Regions from separate parts of the Homo sapiens genome. Here regions 1, 2, 4, 5 and 6 are each linked to region 3. Evidence: promoter capture Hi-C in human tissues and cell types (Jung and others, 2019). All regions are on one chromosome and are shown on one strand. Each heading gives the region's core, a stretch centred on a gene start or on the middle of the fragment in contact. The rest is flanking DNA. Distances are from core to core; before and after follow the strand shown.

Evidence for each region. The method cuts DNA at HindIII sites, captures the fragments that hold promoters and counts their contacts. A contact is called where the count stands out against the background at its distance.
Region 1: a fragment that was not itself captured here is called in contact with the fragment with the promoter of DSCR4 in region 3 in 3 of the 25 tissues and cell types used here (H1 embryonic stem cells, aorta and mesendoderm cells).
Region 2: a contact is called between a fragment that was not itself captured here and the fragment with the promoter of DSCR4 in region 3, in 4 of the 25 tissues and cell types used here (adrenal gland, aorta, lymphoblastoid cells and 1 more).
Region 4: a fragment that was not itself captured here is called in contact with the fragment with the promoter of DSCR4 in region 3 in 2 of the 25 tissues and cell types used here (dorsolateral prefrontal cortex and spleen).
Region 5: a fragment that was not itself captured here is called in contact with the fragment with the promoter of DSCR4 in region 3 in 1 of the 25 tissues and cell types used here (mesendoderm cells).
Region 6: a contact is called between a fragment that was not itself captured here and the fragment with the promoter of DSCR4 in region 3, in 4 of the 25 tissues and cell types used here (H1 embryonic stem cells, dorsolateral prefrontal cortex, mesenchymal stem cells and 1 more).

What each region holds. Positions count from the first base shown.
Region 1 is chr21:37,987,646-37,990,774 of GRCh38, forward strand. No RefSeq gene overlaps it. Among named protein-coding and RNA genes, the nearest start is that of KCNJ6, 73 kb to the left of the region's middle. The HindIII fragment of the contact is 8,084 bases long and covers 1-3,129 here.
Region 2 is chr21:37,955,143-37,958,149 of GRCh38, forward strand. No RefSeq gene overlaps it. Among named protein-coding and RNA genes, the nearest start is that of KCNJ6, 40 kb to the left of the region's middle. The HindIII fragment of the contact is 3,856 bases long and covers 1-3,007 here.
Region 3 is chr21:38,119,781-38,123,161 of GRCh38, forward strand. It overlaps DSCR4 (Down syndrome critical region 4), which reads right to left and starts at 1,580. Exons shown (of 3, transcript NR_147130.1): 1 at 1,348-1,580; 2 at 527-628. DSCR8 (Down syndrome critical region 8) reads left to right here and starts at 1,671. Exons shown (of 3, transcript NR_026842.1): 1 at 1,671-1,821; 2 at 2,532-2,631. The HindIII fragment of the contact is 7,375 bases long and covers 1-3,163 here.
Region 4 is chr21:38,320,752-38,324,162 of GRCh38, forward strand. No RefSeq gene overlaps it. Among named protein-coding and RNA genes, the nearest start is that of LINC01423, 24 kb to the right of the region's middle. The HindIII fragment of the contact is 3,414 bases long and covers 357-3,411 here.
Region 5 is chr21:37,890,338-37,893,509 of GRCh38, forward strand. All of the region lies in intron 1 of KCNJ6 (potassium inwardly rectifying channel subfamily J member 6), which reads right to left. Among named protein-coding and RNA genes, the nearest start is that of KCNJ6, 25 kb to the right of the region's middle. The HindIII fragment of the contact is 3,972 bases long and covers 1-3,172 here.
Region 6 is chr21:37,971,324-37,974,405 of GRCh38, forward strand. No RefSeq gene overlaps it. Among named protein-coding and RNA genes, the nearest start is that of KCNJ6, 56 kb to the left of the region's middle. RefSeq lists an enhancer at 1,956-3,082. The HindIII fragment of the contact is 3,866 bases long and covers 1-3,082 here.

The DNA.
Region 1 (3,129 bases), core at 459-2,958, 130 kb before region 3:
AAAAGCCTATTTTGCAACAATTTATTCTCACTCCCTACTCTGTGTGAAGCTCTTTGGTATCTTTATTGGTTTGCTAGGGCTGCCATAACAAAATACCACAGACTGGGTAGCCTCAACGACAGATGTGTATTTTCTCAGGCTGGAGGCTGGGAGTCTGAGATCAAGATGTCATCAGAATTGATTTCCCCTGAGGCCTCTCTCCTCTTGGCTTGTAGATGGACACTTTCTTTTGGTGTCCTCACAGGGTCTTTCCTCTGTGCATATCTGTCTGTGTCCTAATCTCCTCTTTTTTTTTTTTGACAGAGTCTAGCTCTGTTGCCCAGGCTAGAGTGCAATGGCACAATCTCGGCTCACTGCAGCCTCCGCCTACTGGGTTCAAGCGATTCTCCTGCTTCAGCCTCCCGAGTAGCTGGGATTACAGGTGCCTGCCACCACACCTGGCTAATTTTTTGTATTTTTAGTAGAGATGGGTTTCACCATGTTGGCCAGGCTGGTCTCAAACTCCTGACCTCATGATCTGCTCACCTTGGCCACCCAAAATGCTGGGATTACAGGCATGAGCCACAGTACCCGGCTGCTAATCTCCTCTTCTTATAAGGACACTAGACAGATTGGTTTATAGCCCACCCTTATTGTTAGGCCTCTGAGCCCAAGCCTGCATGTATATATTCAGATGGCCTGAGCCAACTGAAGAACCACAAAAGAAGTGAAAATGGCTCATTCCTGCCTTAACTGATGGCATTACCTTGTGAAACTCCTTCTCCTGGACAATGAGTCTCAGAAGCTCCCCCACTGAGCACCTTGTGACCCCTGCCCTTGCCCGCCAGAGAACAACCCCCTCTGACTGTAATTTTGTACTACTTACCCAAATCCTATAAAACTGCCCCACCCCCATCTCCCTTTGCTGACTCTCTTTTCGGACTCAGCCCGCCTGCACCCAGGTGGTTAAAAAGCTTTATTGCTCACACCAAGCCTGTTTGGTGGTCTCTTCACATGGATGGGCGTGACACTTATGACCTCATTTCACCTTAATCACCTTGTTAAAGGTTCTATCTCCAAATACAGTCACATGCTGAGCTTCTGAAGGTTAGGACATCAACATTTTGGGCATAATTTAGCCCATTGCAACATTCCCTCTGGGAATGCAACTTCACCAGTGCAATACAGATTGATGTGAAGACAGACGAGCCTCTGGAAATGTCTGAAAAGATAGATGCAGAATTGGCCTCCAGACGCTACCAAAGTCTTCCTTAGACAATGAATCAAGGATGGCCCATGCCCATTCCCTAGAATTTTAATCAATGGAGACAGAGCCAGTGCCAGTTTCCACAAAGACCCAAGGAGAGGCAATGGAAACTTGGAATTCAAGTTTTCCTCCAGGGTATTTCCGAGGTGGGTTAGTGGTCCAGAAGTTAGGAAGACCGTCACTCTCTCATGGTGGATGGAGTTCTCACAAGGAAATGTAGACAGAACACAGGACCAAGACAGGGGCCAACCCTGTGCTCCAGCACTTGTGCAGAGTCATGGAGTTGAGGCACCAGCCATTCAAGAGGCCATGGACAGAAACAACCAGACTACCAGAAAGTGGGGGAGCAAAAATACTCTAGTGAGACATGGTATTATATGCTGAAAATACAACCAAATAGAGTGTGGTTGTATTTGGAGATGGGACCTCTAAGGAAGTAATTAAGGTTAAGTGAGGTCATTGGGGTGGAGTCCTGATCCAATAGGAGTAGCGTATTTTTAAAAAATATGCCAGATCTCTTTCTCTTTCCATGTGCACACATTGGGGAGAGGTCTTGTGAGGACACAGCAAGAAGGTGGCTCTCTGCAAGCCACAAAGACAGCCCTCATCAGGAACCAAATTGGTCGGCACCTGGACCTTGGACTTCCCAGCCACCAGAACTGTGAGAGATAATGTCCATTGTTCAGGCCACGTCGTGTGTGGTACTTTGTTATGGCAGCAGGAGCAAACTAAAACACACGGTGAGAGAACAACCCCACTGATACCTGGGGAGGCTCACTGAGGAGTCCAGGTCAGCAGGCCTGGACCCTTGACCCTGGCAAGCCATGCCTCCCTCTCTGCAGTTAATAAGAAACTTCACTTTGCTTGATTAACAGGTAATTCTGGTGGTTTTTCTGGAGAGATGGCTGTTGATACACTCCAAAATTAGCTTCCAATGAAAAACTAAAGCCTCGAATCGCTTCTTGACTCTATTTTCTACCTGTACACTTTGGCAGAGTATGAGAAATCATGTAGGAAATATCAGAAATGCCAAGTACCTCTCCTCTTGGCTTCTTTGGCTCTGTTGCTGCAGACAGAGCAAAGGGCATCAGTTCATGCCATCAGGTGCCCCCTGATATCCTTAGACTTTCTGCATGTCCTACTCTTAGCCCCTCAGCATTTATGCCTAGCACTGAAGTACTCAGCAGGTGGAGGCACCTGTTAGCACATGCTTACCATGGTTTGAGGGCAAGTCTGCTCTGCGAGAAGGTTTGGCCTGCCTGGGTCCCTGAGAGCTAATCTCAGAAAGTGAGGGTTAGCCAAATGGAGGCAGGGCAAAGCCCACTTTTTGTTTCCTTTGCTGTTCTCAGTGGCCTCAGAGGAGGTGTGAGTCTGCTAGCCATTGTGCACTCCCCTGACTCACCTCTGAGTTCCGGCCCCCTGTGACCTAGGACCCTCCTTAAGTCACAAACTGTCTTGGACATCCACTTTCAGTGATGTTTTTCACAGAGATCAAATGATTTATTAATTCCATTAGCACTCATTAATTTAAAAGAGAAAGAGGAAGGAAGGAAGGAAGGAGAAAGAAAAGAAAAAGAAAGAAGAAAGGAAGGAGAACAAGAAGATTCTCCCGTAATTTTATATGAATTAGGATGCTTTTTGGCTGTAGATAAAAAATCCAACTAAATGTGGTTTCAACAAGTAAGGATATTTACTATCTCTGGTAGGAGAAGTTTGAAGAAAAGCGGTTCAGTGGATCAGAGATGCTTATAAGGCTGGAGTTTAGCATCTTTCTCCTCTGTCAACCTCAGAGTGCCAGGAACATTGTCCCCCATGTCTGCCAGATGGCTGTCCTCAAATGACAGTGTCTGAAAGTAGGAAGGTGGCTGTGGGGACATAATCCC
Region 2 (3,007 bases), core at 383-2,882, 160 kb before region 3:
CAAACATCATTTCTTCAGACCAAGGTATACTGAACAGCCCTTGACGTCCAACAAAGGGCAGATATATCATCCTTAGAGTAACAGTTTGATAGAGGGGTAGAAGGGGCAGTTGAAACACTGGTTGTCTAAAACAGCAGTCCCCAAACTTTTTGGCACTGGGGACCAGTTTCCTGGAAGACAGTTTTATCACAGGGGGAGGGAGGATGGTTTCAGGATGATTCAAGCACATTCCATTGATTGTGCACTTTATTTCTATTATTACTGCATTATAATATATAATAAAATAATTACACAACTCACCATAATGTAGAATCAGTGAGAGCCCTGAGCTTGTTTTCCTGAAACTAGATGGTCCCATCTGGGGGGTGATGAGGGACAGTGACAGATCATCGGGCATAGATTCTCATAAGAAGCACACAGCCTAGATCTCTTGCGTGAGCAGTTTGCAATAGGGTTCCCGTTCCTATGAGAATCTAATGCTTCTGCTGATCTGATAGGAGGCAGAGCTCAGATGGTCATATAAGTGAATACAGATAAAGCTTTGCTCACTCAACCCGCCACTCACCTCCTGCTCTGTAGTACAGTTCCTAACAGGCCATGGTCCATAGCCTGGGGGCTGGGGACCCCTGGTCTAAAACATGGGGAGATAAAAGCATGAAGGCTGCCTTACACACCTTCACTAGTCTGTGCTCACACTCAACACGTGTGGGACTAAAGGAGTGTCCCTACTAGATTTTTGACTGTTTCCCTGGTTGCTCTGGGGAAGAGGGGTTGGGGAGGATGCTGGCATGACCTTGCAATTCTTGCTATGGGAGGAATACACTGGTACAACAACTATGTATTTTTTTTCTTTCTTTCCCAAATCATCTCAGAAAAATGTCTTGTTTTTTTTTTTCTCCCTTACCTGATGCGGTGGTCCTAGAACCAGAGGTGCAACTGCAAGTTCTGGAAGCAGGAATGATTTCTAAGCAAGAAACTGTCACTGTGTTTTTAAACTTTGTCAGAATTCCTAACAATTCTGGGGGTGGACCGTGTCTTTATCTCGTCTGGCAAAAGTGGGGTTAGGACTAAATACAATGCACATACACGTGCATGTATCTTTATAATAGAATGATTTCTGTTCCTTTGGGTATACACCCAGTAATGGGATTGCTGGGTCAAATGGTATTTCTGCCTCTAGGTCTTTAAGGAATCACCACACTGTCTTCCACCATGGCTGAGGCAGGAACAGAAGACCAACACTGCGTCTTCTCGCTTACAAGTGGGAGCTGAATGATGAGAACACATGGACGCATGGGGTTGGGGGAACAACACACACTGGCGGCTGTTAGGGGTGGGGTGTGGGGAGGGAGAGCATCAGGAACAATAGCTAATGGATGCTGGGCTTAATACCTAGGTGATGGGTTGATCTGTGCGGCAAACCACCACGGCACACGTTTACCTATGTAACACACCTGCACGTCCTGCACATGTACCCCTGAACTTAAAAATAAAACTTGAAGAAAATAAAAGAATAAATACAACTATATTTCCTGGTGGTAGAAGTGGCTCACTAGTTTGGAATCTGTGTAACCCTGTCTTGAATGAATGGGAACAGACTGAGGTAGAGGCACTCACTAGGCTGATATTGCTACCAGCGATCTGGACCAGCACAATGGCTGAAGTTAATGTCCCTTTCAAAGGTGGAAAAGTTTGGGTAAAAGTAAATGACAAATGGAAAAAAAAGAAAGAATAATAGCTGAGGGTAAGAAATGAATAAATGTGTTATAGATTGAGGGAAATCCAGTAGTAAATTAACAACCCTTTTAAAGAGTCTCAGAGCAAGAGATGACGTCATTGGCCAGCTCAGTTATTCCAGGTGCCTGAAAGGGCGAAGCTGTATATTTACCGAGACCCCTCCTGCTTTTGGGAACTGACAAGTTCCCTGAAGCACCCACGGAGGGCATGGAGGCTCCGTGCCCCTGCCCCCATACCTCGCCCTACACGTCTGTATCCTTTGCAATATCCTTTATAATCAACTAGTATACGTTTAAAAACAAAAATAGAACTGACCACAGGCTGCAGGTCTCCCATGGAATTCTTGGTGCAGGCTTGGGTATCTCTGCCTGGTAGAACTGCCAGATGAAATACAGAGACCAAGTTATGTTTGAATTTTAGATGAATAATTCTTTTTTGTATAAGTATGTCTCATGCAATATTTGGGACATACACTAAATTTTTCTTTGTTGATATCTGAAATTTAAATGTAACTGATCTCCCCTTTTATTTGATAAATCTGGCAACTCTACTGCCTGGACAGCAGTGGCCCTTTGAGCAGAAGGAATTGACTCCTGGTAGTAGAGGAAGGACTCTGGTCCCCAATGTAAACCTATCTGTTTGCTTTCAGGATGCGGGTTCAGAAACCTTTATTGCTGCCTGTAAAGACTCAGCATGGCCAGGGACTTGCAGAAGGACTCTCACCTGGCTCCATGTTGATAAATTTCAGCCACATGTAATGAAATAGAGAGAAATGGAAAAGAACAGGGTGGTTAAGGGACCTGTTAAAAGTGACTACAATTTGGCCCACACCAGTTGAAAAACAAAAGCAAAGAAACAAGCTGCTTTGTTCCAGAACACAAACAAAAAAAACAAAAAACCAAAATACCACGAACTAAACAAAGCCACAGACACATTTCACCAGAAGTGTATTTATTTATCCCTCTAAAATGTCTTTCTTAATATATGGCTGGATGTTCTGTTTTATAAATCTGTAATTACAAGTAACTGGTGTTACAATGATTATAAATTTGCAATATATTTATTTGGGAATTAAATGGCATTAATTGGAGGGTGGAATAGTGACTACGACTTAATTAACCTGAGACTATGGGCTCTGGTTAAAAATCCACCACTACCAGGTAAGTGTGTGTTCCAGGAACAGTGTAGCTTCCACATTTAAAGGCTGTAAATTATTGATGGCAGTAGTCAGTGCTTCTGACAAGCAGTAAACTGGGAGACTGAGTGCTGG
Region 3 (3,381 bases), core at 330-2,829:
AACAAGCTAATAGAAGAAGAAATGTAATTAGAAAAATTTAAATAAGCCCAAAAACTTTAAGGAAGGACAAAAAAAATCATAGAACAGAGAAAATAGGAATCAATGGTAAGATGGTAGATTTAACCTTGAATTACAGTAAATATAAACAGACTAAATATTGAAATTGAAATATAAAGCTCATCAGAGAAGGTAATAATATCAAGCAAAGCTAAACAAGCTGCTTACTTTAAATATAAAGATATCGACAGGTTGAAAGTAAGTAAGGGATGGTAAAACTACTATGCAAAGCAAAAGTTACAAAACCAAAGCAAAGACTGGCTCGTTTCAGAATAATCAACGTTTCAGGTTTAATATGAAATAATCGTAAATTTGTTTATACCTAATAACATAGCCATAAAATAAAAATTGACAGATAAACAATCATGTTAAGAGCCTGTATAAGCCAGATTTCTCCAGAAAAACAGAATCAAAAGGATATATACATTAAGAATTATATTAAGAAATTTATTTTAGCATATTGGCTTACATGATTGTGGGGCTGGCAAGTCCAGAATCCGTAGGAGAAGCTGGCAGGCTGAAACTCAGGCAGGAAACGATGTTGCAGACTTTAGGCAGAATTTTTTCTTCTCTAGGAAAATTCAGTTTTTGCTCTTAAGGCTTCTGATTGTATAAGGCCCATTCACAGTATGAAAAGTAAGATTTATGTAAAGCCAACTGATTGTAGATGTTAACTACATCTACAAAATACCTTTGCAGCACTACCTAGATTAGTGTTTGATTAAATAAATGGGCAGTAAAGGCCGGGTGCAGTGGCTCACGCCTGTAATCCCAGCACTTTGGGAGGCCGAGGCAGGAAGATCACTTGAGGTCAGGAGTTCAAGACCAGCCTGGCCAACATGGTGAAACCCCATCCGTACTAAAAATACAAAAATTAGCCTGGCTTGGTGGCGGGCACCTGTAATCCCAGCTACTTGGGAGGCTGAAGCAGGAGAATCACTTGAACCCAGGAGGTTGTAGTGAACCGAGATCGCGCCACTGCATTCCAGTCTGGGTGACAAGAGCAAAACTCTGTCTCACCACAAAAAAAAAAAAAAAAAAAAAAAAAAAAAGGCACTAAAGCCTGGCCCCCATGATGACACAGGAAACTAATCGTCATGGAGACTTTATCCACACTTTTGAATATATGTTACATTTCAACATTAAAACACACACACACACACAAAATCATAAAGCAATCAACAAAATTAAGCTGAATGCTTCGTAATTGCTGGATTCCCTGGGAAGCTGACTCTGAGATGGAGATTAGCGTGCAGGACATTTCTTACGGGTTGTTCTTGGGATCAATACCTGTGGAGAGGAGAAGCTGAGGCAGGATCAGGAAGCGGGGAAGTAGAGTGCAATGCTGGTGAAGCGGCATCACTGTCTGGGGTAAATATCCGGGGTTCATCATCTCTCGTCAAGATGATTAACGACATGGACACACATGGGTGAGTTAAGAAGCGGAAAGTTTAATAGGCGGAAGAAAAGAGTGAGGAGACCAGCTCTCAGACATCCTTAAGGGAAAGGCTGGCCCGTGACTGACGGCAGCAGGTTTTACGGGCAGGCTTGAGGAGGCGGTGTCTGATTTACGTGGAGCCCAGAGATTGGTTCGACCAGGGGTGACGTTTACGTAGCGCGCAGGGAAGGCTGGTCACCCCACCCTAATCTTGTTATGCAAATAGGCTTCCCACTTGGCAGGGGCCGTCTTGTCCACTCGTTTCTGTAAACATGGGTGGCAAAAAGAGAAGATGGAGCTGCCATTTAGAACATGCCTAATCCCAGGTAGTGTTTTTTGTTGTTGTTGTTGCTGCTGTTGTCGCTTTTTGAGTCGGAGTTTCGCTCTTGTTGCCCAGGCTGGAGTGCAATGGCGCCATCTTGGCTCACCACAGCCTCCGCCTCCTAAGTTCAGGCGATTCTCCTGCCTCAGCCTCCTGAGTAGCTGGGATTACAGGCGTGAGCCACAGCGCCGGCCCCAGGTAGTATATTTTTATTGGCACAACTGCCGGTATTTGCCTGTGCAAGCTTTCAGCTTGCTTGTCTGTGTCTGCAGCTCGATTTTCCAGGTTGCTTTTTGTTAGAAAAGAAAATGATTTGGGGGCTGCTTTTCATTAAAAGGAAGACCTTACTGAGGACTCCCATACCTTCACTATCTGCCTAAGTACTTTCTTCTTAACTCCTATATCACTGGGTCAGCAGCAACCCCAGTCAAACCTCAAGGGAGACGGGAAGATGGGACGATCTGTCAGAGGTATGCTGAGTTGAGGCAAGAGAGCTGACCTTTATGGATTGCCAATCAGTGACTCATTGGAAGTGGGGCAACCTGGAAGGAAATGTGGCCTTAGGTGAGGCAGCTGTCTTCAGAGGAGGCAATTTCTTTGTATCTGGAGGGGCAATTGTTAGTGTTCCCCTGGACTGAAGGGTGAATTATGGAGAATGGAATAGAACGATTTGTTACTATGATTTGGTTGATGACTTATTTCCTGTTTCCTTAGCTTCATCTTGCTGAGCAAAAATGAAGGAGCCTGGACCCAACTTTGTTACTGTGAGAAAGGGTCTTCATTCATTCAAGATGGCATTTGTTAAGCACCTACTGTGAGTAGATGATCTCCTGTCAAAGACAGTTAACAAATCCTCGGAATATTGCTTCATGTACAGTTATTGGAGATGAGTAACTTACATTCTCTTAATTGTAATGGTTCCTTGGAAAGTCATCGTGGAAAATGAAGGCTGGCTCATACATTTTCCCAGACAGGAATTTGGCTGCCAACAGGGAATTCTAAACAACTAAAAACTCCAGATGATGAATGCACAACATAATGATGGTTAAATTAAAAAAAAAAAAGAGCACGGTAATAAAATTTCCATGAAATATTTTGTGTAAGCGCAGATAATCAGTCATTTTCTTTATAGAATTCTTATTCGTAAATAATTTAGAATACTTTGTTCTTTATAATATATGATGGGCAACTATAGTATGATTCTTCTGAGTGACTCAGTTCTTTTTTTTTTTTCACATTTAATGACTTTGTTTCTCCTAAGTGAATGCACAGATAGTATATTAATCAGGGTTCTCTGGAAAAACCAGAACCAATTTATTATCAGGTACTGGTTCATGTGATTGTGGAGGCTGAGAAGCCCCATGATCTGCTCTCTGCAAGCTGGAGACCCAGGAAAGCTGATGAAAGTCAAAGGCCTAAGAGCTGGAGGGCCGATGGTATAGATTGCAGCCCAGGTCTAAAGGCCTGAGAACCAGAAGCACAGAGGGCAGAAGATCAATATTCCAGCTCAATCAGGCAAAGAGAAAAAGTCCTCCCTTCCTCTCCGTTTTTCTTCTATTCTGAC
Region 4 (3,411 bases), core at 814-3,313, 200 kb after region 3:
AACTCGAGGAAATTCATTTAAACTAAAGCATGACAGCTGTCAGTGAGATGAAAGGTAGAGCTGAATCTGGAGCTCCTTCGTGCAGGCCTGTCGTATTATTCCATTCTCATGCTGCTATAAAGAATTACCTGAGACTGGGTAATTTATAAAGAAAAGAAGTTTAATTGGCTCACAGTTCTGCAGGCTGGACAGGTAGCATGGCTGGGAGGCCTCAGGAAAATTTCAATCATGGCAGAAGGTGAAGGGGAAGTAGGCACGTCCTACATGGCTGGAGCAGGAGGAAGAGATCGAAAAGAGAAGGGCTACACTCTTTTAAACAACCAGGTCTAGTGAGAACTCACTCGCTATCATGAGAACAGCAAGGGGGAAACCTGCCCCTGTGATCCAGTCACTCCCACCAGGCCTCTCCTCCAACACTGGGGATTACAATTCCACACGAGATTTGGGCAAGGACAGGAATCCAAACCATATCACCTGTCAACATTTCCATCTCCTTGACCAAGTGGGAGTGAGAGACTCCTGACCCCTCTCCTGGAATAAGGATAACATAACCCAGGGCTTCAGAGTTGTGAGCTCCATGTGCTAGCTTGTTGCAGCAAGTCTTGCAGAAGTTGAGTGATGGGGACAGAGACCCAGCAAAGGCTCTCCTAGGAGAGCTGCATGATGCATTAACAGTGTCCACTACAGTACAGGAGCCTTTCAGGAGAGATATAAGGAGGAGTTTCCTGAGCAGGAAAGTTGTTGATCACAAGAACAGGTGAGCAATGAAGACAAAACTAAACTGGAGTCACAACAACTCGGATATAAATCCACCCTGAGGCAGGGGACTGGACCCATTGAGCTGCCAGAGCCCTTATATATCTATAAGTTGACTTCAGAGAGTTTCAAATCCGATAGGACTTTGCAAGTACCATATCGAAGATAAAGAAGCTGATCCAAGGGAACGTTGGCCAAGCCCACTTCGCAGTTGAGAACAACATGGCTTAAAAACAGCCTGCACAGCTTCCTGGACGTCCCATCACATTTGCCAAATAGCATTTTGGTGAGCTGAGAATCAATGAATGAGAAACAGATGGATTTAATGTCCCTTGAAATTAGGGATGGGTGAGCCCAGCCACACTGTGGAATTGCTGAATGTCTCAAACTATTTTTTTCAAGTATCTTTGGTTCAGAAAAACCAAAACCATGGTTTTGCAAAGCACGTTTCCTCTCATTCATATGAGGGTTCGTGTATTTTAACGGAAATTTGATCTGCATATTTCAACTTCTTTACACTTCACTTATCAAAATGCTAAATAAAATTTCCAGGAAGTCTGAGAAATATTTATAACTTTTTTTTCCAAACTATTTTATTTAGGAAAGGAAACAATGGGGAAGTTTGGAAAATCCTACAAAAGAGAAGGTGGGTTCAGGTGGAAGTTCACACTTTTAGGGAGTTCTATGTCCCAGAATTACGCACATGTTAGGTGTGCAGTCACAATGTGCTCAACGAGTATATTTGAAAATCTCTTGAAAAGTGAGGGGAAAGGTGGGAAAGTTCAATAAGGACAAGCTTGAGGAAAGGCTGAAAAATACAACATAATTTAAAATAGCTTCTCATCTCTAATAGCCAGGCAGTGTATTCCTAGCAGCCATAAATCTAATGACGCAGAACTATAGCATTCTTGTATCATCCACCAGCATGAACTCCACCATTCTTCAGATGTCTTTTCTCTTTATAAGACTTGTGATAAAGGTGCTTATAGGATGCTCATGAGTGGAGGGATGGCAAGAGGAGAGGGTGGAAGAAATGCACCACAGAGGGTGGGTGGGAGCAGGCGGTGGAGTGAGTGCCCAGCGCCATCTTTGTTTTAGAGAATGACTCTGACCACAGACTTATGTGTGAGCCCTGAAGAGCTGTTTCTACTTAAAGCTTAGCTTTCGGTTCCAGAGGACCAAGTAAGACACAAGCGGGAGAGACGCAGTCATCCCATCTCTCAGGGAGCTCAGTCTGTTTGTATTGTGCTGGAAGCACAGTGCTTGCTCATCACCGACAGGCAGACTTCTGCTCATAGTGTCATTGGCAGAGAGTGCAGCAATGGACACTGCCCAAAAGGAGAGAAGAAGGAAAAGGCAACTCCTTGTGGTATCTGATTACGTTTGTCTCAAATGCCCAGGAGACATTCCCTGGGGATTCCCAGAAAAGCAATTTAAGATGGGGATTTGACAGGGAGCAATAATAATTATTGATACAATCTGAAGAATAATGTTTATTACGATGAATATGCTTCTCATTTAAATCCCCAGGCTGGTGCAGGAAGCACAAACATGGATTACATATCTCTTTAAAGCCATGTATTTTCTGGCTTTTAAATTAGAAAACCCAAGTAGGGTTGTGTGGCAGTGACAATAGGAGTTGTCAAATATTCCTGGGACTCCCCCACATTTCCCAGCAGCCTTCCAGGTAGTTAGGTTGGTGGCAGTGATTGATCTGGGCCAACAGGGTGTGGGCATGAATGATGTGTGGCATTTTCTGACCAAGATAGTCAATTCTTCCATTCCTCCCTCCCCTCCTCAGAGATCTTGGTCTACAATTTGCCCAGATGTTTTAGCTAAACTGGACTTCTCACAAAGGAGAACTGAGCTTTTACTCTGTAAAACCACTGTGATTTGGCGGGGGCGAGGGTGGGGGGTCTTGTTTGTTACAGTGGCTAGTGTTAACTAGCCTGATTAACACAAGCGTTAACTAGACTAATACAGGTTGTAAACTTACAACCTGTCATTATGATACCCTGATAGTAATAAAGCTGGTGGTTTGGGGTAAGATTCTCAGAAGTTTTTGAGAATATAGTAGTGCCTTATATTAGTAATCTACTGCTATATTAAAAACTACCTTAAGAGGTAGTAGTTTAAAACAACAAGCATTTATTATCTCAAAGTTTTTGACGGTCAGGAATTTTGGAGTGGCTTAGGTAGGTGGCTCTGACTCAAAGTGTTTCATGAAGTGCAGTCAAAATGCTGGCAGGAGCTGCAGTTATCCAAAGGCTTGATTGGGGCTGGAGAATGCATTGCTCATATAGGAGCCCTCAATTTATTGCTGGTTTCTGGCTGGAGTTCTCATTTCCTCATCAGATGCTCCTCTTTGTAACGATTCTCAGGCAAGGGAAGCTAGCATCATTCAGACAGAGTAATCCAAGAGAGAAAGCAAACAGGAAACCACAGAATCTTTTATTGCCTAGTATCTCATGTTGCTTCCTCCCCCACCTATTCATTAACAGTAAGTCACTCAGTCTAGCCACACTCAAGAAGAGGAGAATAGGTTACAGCTTTTCAAGAGGGTTTCAAAGAATTTGTGAACAGATTTTAAACTACCCCAGAGTGGGTACACCCCATTACCCCAGAGTGGGTTTGTAGGTAGCTAAGGGGGTAGAA
Region 5 (3,172 bases), core at 555-3,054, 230 kb before region 3:
ACTTCCCACCAGGTCCCTCCCATGACTAGTGGGGATTACGGGGACTACAATTCGAGGTGAGATTTGGGTGGGAACACAGCCAAATCACATCAACTTCTCAAAAGAGTTTTACAGTCAATTCACATTTCTAAGTAAAAGAGCTTAAGACCTATTTTAACCTACGACATAAAAGACTTCTGCTTTCGTGGCCTCCTGTTGCCCTGGAAGACACTCCTGCAAGAAGGCTGACCTGCCTTCAGCTGCATGTCTGTACAGCAAACCCACTCAAGGTTTGACACAAACCTTCTATGTGTGAAACACATGCTGAGATTTCTGATTTCTGAGAGTTGAAAAGAACCATGCAATTGTAAATCATGTACAAAGGAATAAAACATGGCGGCTCTGTGTGTCAAAAGGTTTTCCCCTGCAAGTCCCACAGACATGGGGAGTGCATCACATCGGTACAATTCAGGAGAACACTGCCTCTGACTCTGCCCGCCTCCCCCGCATCCAAGCAAGCAGCCAACAAACAAAACAAGCCCCAGTGAAGCTGTAGCCTACTGTGGGTTTCCAAAAACCTTTACAGAATCGAATCTGGCAAGATGGCACATGGGGGCAACCTTAATAAAAATCTTTCCTGTAAAATATTGCGCATTGAAAGTCAGGTTATAAATTCTGGAAATTTCTCCCTAAAGTTAAACACAAGGGATCCTGAGGGTTTACTCTGATCTCCTGAATCTAACTGTACGATGCTCACCTACCTATCTCAGAAAGGTGAGTGACAGAAGGACTGGGAAGCAGGGAAGGCATAGGGGACGGGCTTTCCTCCTTGCTTTCATAGGATACTTTCACAGGTGGGCCTCTCAGCTGTGTGCTGGATGGATGAAAGGTGAGCAGGTTTTGCAAAGGCAGGTTAGGGGAACCACACACAGACACACACAGGCAAAGACACACACACAGAGACAGGTACAGACACACATAAACATGCACACATAGACACAGAGACAGATACGAACACAGACACGCATAGACAAACACACAGGCACACATGCACGGACACAGGCATGTACACTCTGCACTGTACACGATGTCATTTTAGGTGTAGTGAGAATAATTTTATATAGAGATCAAAATTTTGCCTCATATCTATGAATGGTTCCGACTAGCTAGAAAACCATGGATGATTAAGCACTGCTTAGAAATGTGTCCCTAAAATCTACAAAGTTAAAAAAATCCCTTAATATGTATTTTAATTTGTGTAACAGGGGATTTATGAATTGAGTACTTGTAGGCTGTTTGGGTGAGAACATTTCCAGGCTTTCTTAGACCCAGCTGAACCTAGGGGGCCCAGGTTGCAAGTGTTTGAACTACCAGATACCAAGCCCTCTCAGTGACCCCCTCATATATAAATTTTAAAGGCTTGAATATCCAAGTGCCAAAGTCGATCATTTGAGATAAGGGCCTCAGCTCTGCATTTCACTCTTTCTTCTTGCAGCTGCTGTTCCTGTTGGAGGTAGCAAGGACATTGGTGCTGATGCTGGCGGCAGTTGTGGTGGTGCTGGGCTGGGTGTGGGTTGATGGTCTCAAGTGTGGGATGGGGAAGGGGTGTGGGATGGTGGGGGTGGAGACACGCATCACATGACTCTCAGATGATTCTTGGCAATAAGAAGACAAAGATTTTCATGTTGGGAGCTTAAACACTGAAGAATTTGCAGGTATCTTTTTAAAGCATTCTTGTGATTCTTCTTTAAATCAATGGTTCTCAACCCTGGCTGCCTGCTACAACCATGTGGGAGCTTTTGAAACATACCAGTGCAGAGACTGTTCCCCATTGTAATTCTGATTTAATCAGTCTAGGGTTTTAGAGTGAGGAGCTCTTCAGGAGATGCAAATGTGCAGACAGGGCGTTGAATCATTTCAGGTCAAATGGGGCATCCCAATACAGCAGTAAGAGTGAGAGGGAGCCCTGGGCACAGCCATTTCTTCTGCAGGAACAGCACTGATGTGGTCCTGGCTGATCGTAAAGTCACCTACCTCAGTTTTTAATAGTTATTACAAAATATTTCAAGCATTCAGGAAATTATATGGAATTTCTATGCTCTGACCTCCAGGTTTAATGACTGTTAGTATCTGGCTATATTTCTTGTTTATTAGTTTAGAAAATACAGCTGTAAAAAAATCTGGTGGCTCTGACTGGGTTGGGAAATTTGGGATACCTTTGGGCAAAATGTATTGAGAAGACAGGCTGCTCACTTAGGTCCCTGCTGGGTCATTTGCACTTTAGTATAAGTGAGGCAACAGGGTGAAGGCAATGGTAGAGACTTAAGGTTGGGCAAAGATGGGGAGGCAAGTTGGGAAAAGGGGTGCAGAATGGGCATAGGGCTTAGGATGTCTATGGCAACCCCAGGTTGTCCACTGTTGACCCTGGCAATGAGGTAAAATCTTTTCACTGAGGAGTTTTTAAGAAGAAATCACTATACAGGAGAGTGAGAAGTCCCAGTTTTAGCATTCTTTGTCCCCATATGGCTTCTTTCATAGTTTTTTTTTTTTTTTTGAGATGGAGTCTTGCTCTGTCACCCAGGCTGGAATGCAGTGGTGTGATCTCGGCTCAGTGCAAGCTCCACCTCCCGGGTTCACACTGTTCTCCTGCCTCAGCCTCCCGAGTAGCTGGGACTACAGGCGCCCGCCACCCAGGCCAGCTAATTTTTTTTGTATTTTTAGTAGAGACGGGGTTTCACCATGTTAGCCAGGATGGTCTCGATCTCCTAACCTTGTGATCCGCCTGCCTTGGCCTCCCAAAGTGCTGGGATTACAGCCTTGAGCCACCGCACCCGGCCGGTTTCTTTCATAGTCTTATGTTACATTCCTGGGTACCCTTTTGAATGTTCCCCTATTTTTTTCTTTTTTTGGAGATGGAGTCTCACGCCATCTCCCAGGCTGGAGTACAGTGGTGTGATCGCGGATCACTGCAATCTCTGCCACCTGTGTCCAAGCAATTCTCCTGCCTCAGCCTCCCAAGTAGCTGGGATTACAGGCACCTGCCACCGTGCCCAGCTAATTTTTGTATTTTTAGTACAGATGGGGTTTCACTATCTTGGCCAGGCTGGTCTTGAACTCCTGACCTTGTGATCCACCTGCCTTGGCCTCCCAAAGTGCTGGGATTACAGGTGTGAGCCACCGTGCCCAGCCTGTT
Region 6 (3,082 bases), core at 204-2,703, 150 kb before region 3:
CTGATTCTGGTTTTTACTTCCTTGGGGCTAAGGTGTTAAACTCGATCTCATAGTTCCATTTCATCCCTTGAGAAGGCTCACTGCAGAGCCTTCTCTGTCCTACGAGATGCTCTGTAGTATTAAAGAAAAACCTCAGCACCTTTGCCTTAAGCATCATTGAAGTGTTACATGCTTTTCGTGTATCAGAGCATGTAAATTACCTTCCAGGGAAAGGACTCATATCTCAGGGTCACTTCAGTACAACAGTGACAATTTGCTGATTACAGCAGTTTCCCCGAAGAAAGAGGGAAGCCATCACTATTTGTGTAGCAAAGATTAGAAAGCTTGAGAATCATAAAGGCAATTCGGCCCAGGATCTCCTGGCATGCCATGTCAGCTTATTTATTAGTCAGGGTCCTCCGGGAAGCATGTGTTGAGATGGGATTAAACTTGCCTGCATTTTGTTAGGAGAAACTATCACATGAGGGAAGATAAAGAGGGAACCAGGGAAGGCCAGGAGGGCCATTAAGCCTTGATGCAAATCTGACTCCATGTCAAGAGAGAAGGAGGGGAGGCTGAGAGAAGGCACGTTGGACTGCCTGCTGCAGTCTCTGGAGGGTCCTCAGGGTGTTGGGGGCCCCTGTGTCTGCCTTAGTGACCTAAAACAGTCATTCGCTGGGAGCAGCCCTGGGGATGCAAGTCCTCCTGCAAATGCAGCTATGATGGATTTCAAAGCACCACATCTTGAGCCCTCAGTGGGTGGTGTTCTCTGTAGTTGGAGTCTGCCAGGTGTGTTCCAGAGGCTGCCACAGTGCACTTTTCTTAAACTAGAGAATGTTCCTCCATTAAATACCTGCTTTGTGCCAGACAATGGCTATATTCTGGCATCACGGAGGGCGGCCAGAGGGAAATGAGAGGAGACCCTGTGCTCTGCAATGCAGAGGCGTCTCCCTGAGCAGCCTCCCTCTATGGACGGGCATTTCACAGACTTCTCCACCAGGAAGCAGCAGGGTGATAGTGCCCAGGTCCACAGGCCACAAAGCCCATTGGTATTGTCAGGTCCTGTGCTTCACTGCATATGGGTCAAGACCACAGATGGTGGCGGCTACCTCCAGCTCCCATCACTCAGGACATGGCAGGCCCTTGCCCTTTCCCCTCCACAGCGTCGTTCTCATCTTCCTTTGACAAGGCACCTGCAGGTATTCTCTCTCCTGTTCCCCTGCCAAGCTTGCAACAGGCGGGGATGGACTCTCACACCTCTGTGTAGTGAAAATGAGAATTCCCATTTGTCATTCTGATTTTGTCCAATGGCCTTTCTAGTGTCTCCTGGTCTCTCCTCTGCTTAGTGAGGGGTCCTCATGCTTCTTGAGAGATGGCAGCTAATGTGGGTGCCCGAGTCAGGCTGCTAACTGTTGGCTGCATGATTTATTTGGGGTAAGTTATCTAAGTTCTCTGTGCCTCAATCCCTTATTTGTAAGAAAGATAACAATGTCTGTTGCTAACACTTACGACTGTTTTGAGGATTAAATGTGATAATACAAGCAAGCTTTTAGCATAGTGCTCAATAAATAGCAGTTATTATTAGATTGAACCCCACAGAATTACCATTTTTCTAAGTCAAGAAATTTAAATTTTGGCAGTTTCATGAGGTTTAACCAAAAACTATGGGTGGGCAAAACTTTTTGGTTTGGAAACCTCCTTACCCTCTGTGGGGTACTTGGTAGAGCAGCTGAGGTGAGCCACTTTTGCCTTCCTATCAGGACCTGGCACGTCACCCTCCCAAACTGGAAGAGAAGGCAGGTAGCTATTAGGTGGGAACAAAGACGTTGGTTCCATCACACCTGTGTTCACCTCTTCTTCATACCAATCAGTGTTCACAAGGGTGACCTTGGCCTGAAGACAGCCTCCTTGAGTGTGTGCTCGACCCATGAGAGGAGAAGGCCCTCTCCCTATTCACAGACCAAAATAAGCCACATCAGGATGGCTACTTCCATGTTAGAAATCACCATTGATCCATGTATTTGTCTGGGTTCTCCAGAGAAAAATAATCAATAGGATATATATATACACACACACATATAAAGAGACACATGCACACATATATGTATATACACACACACACACAAACACACATACAAAGAGAACGCGAGAAAGAAAGATATTTATACAGAGGCATTGACTCACGTGATTGTGGAGGCTGAGACATTTTGTAATCTGCCCTCCGCAGGCCAGAGGCCCAGGGAGGCCAGTGATGTAAGTTCCAATCCAAGCCCAAAGGCCTGAGAACCAGGGAGCCAGTGCTGTGATTCCCACCAATCAGGTCTGAAAACTAGAAAGGTCAATGGTGCAAGACCTGGTCTGGGTCTGAGGGCAGGGGACTTATGTCCTAGCTCAAGCAGTTAGACAGAGAAAGGGAGAGAGAGAATCCCCCTTTCCTCCACTTTTTTGTGCTATCCAGGCCTGCAGCAGATGGGATAATGCTGACCCACATTGAAGAGGGCCATCTGCTTCACTCAGCTCATGAATTCAAATGCTAATTTCTTCCAGAGACACCCTCACAGACACACCTAGAAATAATGTTTAGCCAGATATCTGGGCATCTCGTGACCCAGTCAAATTGATATATAACTAACCACCACAGTCCAGGTAGACTTACCTAAGGTGAGTTTGATTTAGTTAAGAGCCTATCTTTGTGCCTTCTGGGAGACCATGGGAACCCTTCAACGCTGGCTATGGAGAGAGGTGCTCCTTCTGCTACCAGGCTCAGGTAGGTACAGCGCAGGCCCTACAAAGTGAGGGAGGAGCGGTCCTGAAACGGTGGCCTGAGATCCCCATTCTCACCTCTGCTGAGTTGCCTCATGTCACAGGTACTCCTCGAGGTCAAGACATTTACCACCCACAGCCACTGTTAAACCACTAATATGCGGTGATTCATGTTTTTACGTAGGTGACAGTTTAGTGTTATGGGGAAAAGCATTGGATTTGGAGTGTGGAATTAGTCATTCCTGACCTGGCTGGGTGGCTGTGTGTAAGCATTTTCTCTCCCTGGAGCCTCATCCATAGCAAGAGGGTTTTGCAGCAAAGTTAAGATGGCAAATACGTC